Regions from separate parts of the Homo sapiens genome. Here region 1 is linked to region 2. Evidence: promoter capture Hi-C in human tissues and cell types (Jung and others, 2019). All regions are on one chromosome and are shown on one strand. The core of a region is centred on a gene start or on the middle of the fragment in contact, and the rest is flanking DNA. Distances in the headings are between cores, read along the strand shown. Region 1 has its middle 16 kb from the start of DHRS4-AS1. Region 2 holds the start of CIDEB (cell death inducing DFFA like effector b).

Region 1 (2,700 bases), core at 1-2,500, 340 kb after region 2:
ATGCTGCCTTGTTATTCTTTACTCCACCGACATGTTTGGGTGGAGAGAAACATAAATCTGGCTTACGTGCACGTCCAGTCATAGTACCTTCCCTTGAACTGAATTATGATGTAGATTCTATTGCTCACGTTTGTTGCTGACCTTCTCCTTATTATCACCCTGCCCTCCTACTACATTCCTTTTTACTGAAATAATGACGATAATAATCAATAAAAACTGAGGGAATTCAGAGACCGGTGCCGGTGCAGGTCCTTGGTATGCTGAGCGCCGGTCCCCTGGACTCACTGTTGTTTCTCTATACTTTGTCTCTGTGTCTTATTTCTCTTTCTCAGTCTCTTGTCCCACCTGACTAGAAATACCCACAGGTGTGGAGGGGCAAGCCACCCCTTCAAGCAGTAGCAACCCGCTTGGGTCCCCTTCCACACTGTGGAAGCTTTGTTCTTTCACTCTTTGCAATAAATCTTGCTGCTGCTCACTCTTTGGGTCCACACTGCCTTTATGAGCTGTAACACTCACCGTGAAGGTCTGCAGCTTCACTCCTGAGGCCAGTGAGGCCACGAACCCACCAGGAGGAATGAACAACTCCAGACAGGAGGAACGAACAACTCCAGACATGCTGCCTTAAGAGCTGTAACACTCACTGCGAAGGTCCGCAGCTTCACTCCTGAAGCCAGCAAGACCACGAACCCACCAGAAGGAAGAAACTCTGAACATGTCTGAACATCAGAAGGAACAAACTCCAGACACGCTGCCTTTAAGAACTGTAACACTCACCGCGAGGGTCCGCAGCTTCATTCTTGAAGTCAGTGAGACCAAGAACCCACCAATTCCAGACATACCTTCATTTTGGGCCTATGTGTGTCTTTGCATGTGAGATGGGTCTCCTGAATACAGCACACCATATGGGTCTTGATTCTTTATCCAATTTGCCAGTCTGTGTCTTTTAATTGGGGCATTTATCCCATTTACATTGAAGGTTAGTATTGTTATATGTGAATTTGATCCTGTCATGACGTTAGCTGGTTATTTTGCCCATTAATTGATGCAGTTTCTTCATAGCATCAATGGTCTTTACAATTTCGTATGTTTTTGCAGTGGCTGGTACCCGTTGTTCCTTTCCATGTTTAGTGCTTCCTTCAGGAGCTCTTATTGTAAGGCAGGCCTGGTGGTGACAAAATCTCTCAGCATCTCCTTGTCTGCAAAGGATTTTATTTCTCATTCACATACGAAGCTTAGTTTGGCTGGATATGAAATTCTAGTTTCAAAAATCTTTTCTTTCAGAATGTTGAATATTGGTCCCAACTCTTTTCTGGTTTGTATGGTTTCTGCTGAGAGATCTGCTGTTAGTCTGATGGGCTTCCCTTTGTTGGTCACCCAACCTTTCTCTCTGGCTGCCCTTAACCTTGCTGAGTCTGACAATTATGTGTCTTGGGGTTGCTCTTCTCAAGGAGTATCTTTGTGATGTTCTCTGTATTTCCTGAATTTGAATGTTTCTTTTTTATTTTTTTGTCTCTAATCTTGTCTTCTCACTTTATTTCATTAATTTTATCTTCAATCACTGATATCCTTTCTTCCACTTGATTGAATCAGCTATTGAAGCTTGTGTATCCTTCATGAAGTTCTTGTACTGTGGTTATCAGCTCCATCAGGTCATTTAAGCTCTTCTCTACATTCTTCATTCTAGTTAGCCATTCGTTTAACCTTTTTTTGAAGGTTTTTAGCTTCCTTGTAATGGGTTAGAACATGTTCCTTTAGCTGGGAGTAGTTTGTTATTACTGACCTTCTGAAGCTTAACTTCTGTCAAGTTATCAAACTTATTCTCCATCCAGTTTTGTTCCCTTGCTGGTGAGGACTTGTATTCCTTTGGAAGAGAAGAGACGTTCTGGTTTCTGGAAGTTTCAGCATTTCTGCTCTGGTTTCTCTCCATCTTTGTGGTTTTATCTACCTTTGGTCTTTGATGTTGGTGACCTATGGATGGGGTTTTAGTGTGGATGTCCTTTGCTATTCTGATGTTGATGCTGTCCTTTGCTGATGTTGATGCTATTCCTTTCTGTTTGTTAGTTTTCCTTCTAACAGGCCCCTCAGCTGCAGGTCTTTGGGGGTTTGCTGGAAGTCCATTCCAGACCTTATTTTCTTGGGTATCAGTAGAGGAGGCTGCAGAACAGCAAATATTGCTGCCTGATCCTTCTTCTGGAAGCTTTGTTCCACAGGGGCACCCACCTGTATGAGGTGTCTCTCCGCCCCTACTGGTCGGTGTTTTTCAGTCAAGCTACATGGGGGTCAGGGACCCACTCGGGGAGGCAGTCTGTCCGTTATCGGAGCACGAACTCCGTGCTGGGAGAACCACTGCTGTCTTTAGAGATGTCAGGCAAGGACACTGAAGTCTGCAGAAGCTGTCCGCTGCCTTTTGTTCAGATATGCCCTGGCCCCTGAGGTGGAATCTGGAGAGGCAGTAGGCCTTGCTGAGCTGCGGTGGGTTCCGCCCAGTTAGAGCTTCCCTGCAGCTTTGTTTACACTGTGATCATAGAACGCCTACTGAAGCCTTAGCAATGGAGGACTTCCCTCCCCCACGGCCCCGTTAACTGATGCAGTTTCGGCCCCCCGCCCCCCACCGCCCTCTCCACCCTACCTGTCAAGCTCCAGCTCCAGCGGAGGATGCTCCAGGGACAGCGATGTCAGGACTGAGATGCAGGGGCTGCC
Region 2 (3,427 bases), core at 675-3,174:
CCAGCCCACCTTCTGCAGTGTGTATGTTGCCTGGTCTCTCTGGCCTGCAGAGGTGACCCAAACAACTCAGTCCCCCACCTGCCTTATCCTTGCCTGTTTCCAGTCTCCTGGTCCGGCTGAGCCCCTGGCCTCCTACCTCCTCCCACCTCTTGCCTCAGGCCCTGCCCCAGTCACTCCACCCTCAGGGCTCTCACCGGGCTGTCAATGACAGCTTTTCCATGTAAGGCATGGTGCTAGGTTCCAGGAGGAACAGGGGATGCATGGAGGCATAATGGTTAGGGAGTCATGACACACAACCATGAAGAGGCCCCATTACCAGGCTGCACCAGGATACAAGACAAGAAAGGAAAGGATGAGTAGGGACATACTAAGAAGCAGCCCTCTCCTCTTGGAAAAGTCAAGCAAAACTTGGAAATGAAGAGATTTGAGGGGGGCCTGGCAGATGGATAGAGCTGGGGGAAGGGAAAAGAAAGGCCTCTGCTCAAGTAACAGCCAGAACTTGAGGTTGCTTGGGGAGGGCACCAGGAGCACTGTCTTAGTTTGGGTTCTTCCAAAGCAGAGCTTGAGCTAAGGGCTTGGGTACAGGTGATCCTGTATTCTTGAGCTAAGGGCTTGGGTACAGGTGATCCTGTATTTGGGAGGTTAACTCAGGAAGTGAGGGCATAAGGTAAAACAAGAGAGAGGAAAGCCATTAAGAGTATGTTAAGTCCCTTCAGTAGGCCTTGGGAACCTCTGAGAAAAGTATAGATTGCCCAAGACAAAAGACTGGCAGGGTGATCAGTCCAAAGCATTTATTAGGAGAATGTACTTAATGAGTGGGCTACAGCGTATCCTCACAACAGACAGTGAGAGAGAGTTGTTCTACCTGGGTATATCCAAAACAAGGGGGTCAGGGTATGGAGTTTACGAGGGTTCAAGGTATTTGGTTCAGGGCCAGGGCCAGTTTTTTTCAGTGTTTTGGGCAACAACCTGAATACCTTTTCAAGGCTCTGGCTTGGGCTCAAGCCTGCAGGGGAAATGCAACTGGCCAGGTCACAGGGCAATCAAGTTACTCTGTGTTTCTTTGTCAGGACACAGAAAAAAAGTGGGGAAGCTGGGGGACCCTACAAGGATCCTTGGCAGGAAAGCAGGGATTGTGTTCATTTGAGGGTTTCACTGTCAGTGAGAGTCTCAGCTTCCATGCAACTGTCCATCACGGCTGCAACTGAAATCAGAGCTGGGACACAGCGCACCAGAAGCTAAAGTCTTGATGCCATCAAAGGACATCCCTGCCCCATTCACATCTCTGTCACGTCCACTAATCGGCAAAAGGAGAAAAGTGAGAGAAGATGACCTAAGTGTGACTGCAGCAGGCAGCTCTGGAAAATGAAGCCAGAGCAGTGAGCCAGCCCCTCCTCCGACCAAGGAGGAAGGAAAGAGCAGGTAAGCAGGAAGGCCAGTGTCCCAGACAGGACCCTAATGATCCTGAATCCATGTATCAGGATCCATCCTCTCCTTACACCCTTCCTGGACACAGTCTCACCTCTCATTTTCCAAAGCCCTGCCATGCTGCCATCCCACTTCCCCACACTCTGCCCCGGGTTCCCTTTTCCTAAAGCTGCAGCTTATGGCTTCTCCAGTAGGTGGCAGCACACACAGAGCCACTCATAAACTGCAGCTTCTCAGAGCCTGAGAGCCAGAAACCGTCCCCAGAAATTCCCTCCATAGAAATAAAAAAACACCAGAAGTCACATTTCATCCTTTTACATGGTTCCCATCTACCCTCACAACACATGTCATCACCAAAGACACACATACAAGCTCCAATGGCTTTTGCCAGGCAATTCTTCCTCCAGGACCCCATCTGGCCCCTCCCTCATCCCTCCCCTTGGACTTTGCCCTTCTTACTGGCCAGGCAGGGGGGCCAGAGTCCAGGCTTGACTCATTCCCACCTTGTCCTGGGCTGAGATCCCAGGTTTGTAACAGAAAACACCACTAAAGCCCCAGCACAGGAGAGAACCACCCAGCCCAGAAGTTCCAGGGAAGGAACTCTCCGGTCCACCATGGAGTACCTCTCAGCTCTGAACCCCAGTGACTTACTCAGGTGACTGCTAACCCTCCGCTCTACCCTCCACCTTTAGGGGATATAGGCAGGGCAACAATACTCCACTCAGCCCCTAGGAGACTAACCAGTACCCCTTCCTCTCCTGCTCCCCACTCCACAGTGGGCTTGTCAAGCTCCTGAGCCACCCGCCCCCACCTGCACTCCATGGTCTCTCCCTCATCCCTAATCGATAAACCTAGATCTCTCCCTCCCTAGCCCTCTAGCCACTCTACCCTCATCATGCCCTTTACACTCACCAAGCCCCTCCTCGCCCCTTCTTGACTTTTCTTCTCAACTACCAGGTCAGTATCTAATATAAGCTCGGAGTTTGGACGGAGGGTCTGGACCTCAGCTCCACCACCCCAGCGACCTTTCCGTGTCTGTGATCACAAGCGGACCATCCGGAAAGGCCTGACAGCTGCCACCCGCCAGGAGCTGCTAGCCAAAGTAAGTAGGCCAAGTTCCTCGGTTCCTATAGCAGGGGTAGCCAAGGGGCTCCACAACAGTGGCAACTTGTGATGATGGAGCAGAGGGCTGAAGTCACACAGCTGCCCCTCCCTCTGAGGGCTAAAAGCAGCGGAGTGGGCCTAATGAGCTCTGGTCAATTTGTTCATTTTCCACCGAGTGAGCTTTTCTATGGGAGCAGGGGTTAGCAGGAGATAGGGAGAGTTCGAGGGACAGAATTCAGAAGCTAGTATGGAAAGGTGATTTGTGTGACAAATCAAGTTCAAATTCTGATTCTGCCACTTCCTGCCTGTCAAACCTTGGGAAGTTGTTCAACCTACCAAAACCTCAGTTTCTTCAACTATAAAAAGGCAATAATAATACATCACCTCCTAGGGTTGTTGAAAGGAGTAAGAGGATAATGTAGGTAAAGTCCTCATACCTGGCACAGAGTAAGGACTCAAAAAGGTTAAACACTATTACTGAAAACACTTCTGGAGAACTCTTGAGGGTGTGGGAAGTGAGGTGCAGCATTGTAGATAAGACAGAAGGGTGGACTTCGTGAGAACCTGGCTTGCTTTCCAATTCCAAACCAGAAGTGACTTGGAGGGGAGCAAGGGGAGATGCCAATGACATGGTAGGAGCAAAGAGGAAAAAGGTCAGCCTCTAGCTAGGATCCCCCAAAAACTGAAGAACACGGAGAGCTGCAACCTTTAGGAGGTATCAAAGTGCCGGAAAGTCAAAGTGGGACATCGACCAATGTCTAGAGCCAACTGATGGATGTTGGGCAGCTAAAGAGGGAAGGGGCATGGGATAAGACCTGCCCTTCTTGCTTCTTGCCATTGGGCAGGCATTGGAGACCCTACTGCTGAATGGAGTGCTAACCCTGGTGCTAGAGGA

Evidence for each region. The method cuts DNA at HindIII sites, captures the fragments that hold promoters and counts their contacts. A contact is called where the count stands out against the background at its distance.
Region 1: a fragment that was not itself captured here is called in contact with the fragment with the promoter of CIDEB in region 2 in 1 of the 25 tissues and cell types used here (small bowel).

The regions. Positions count from the first base shown.
Region 1 is chr14:23,970,262-23,972,961 of GRCh38, reverse strand. It overlaps a transcript of DHRS4L2 not described here. Among named protein-coding and RNA genes, the nearest start is that of DHRS4-AS1, 16 kb to the right of the region's middle. The HindIII fragment of the contact is 4,031 bases long and covers 1-2,700 here.
Region 2 is chr14:24,306,474-24,309,900 of GRCh38, reverse strand. It overlaps CIDEB (cell death inducing DFFA like effector b), which reads left to right and starts at 1,924. Exons shown (of 5, transcript NM_001393339.1): 1 at 1,924-2,083; 2 at 2,386-2,530; 3 at 3,378-3,427. The coding sequence starts at 2,043. It overlaps NOP9 (NOP9 nucleolar protein), which reads right to left. Exons shown (of 10, transcript NM_174913.3): 10 at 777-3,427. The HindIII fragment of the contact is 10,071 bases long and covers 1-2,432 here.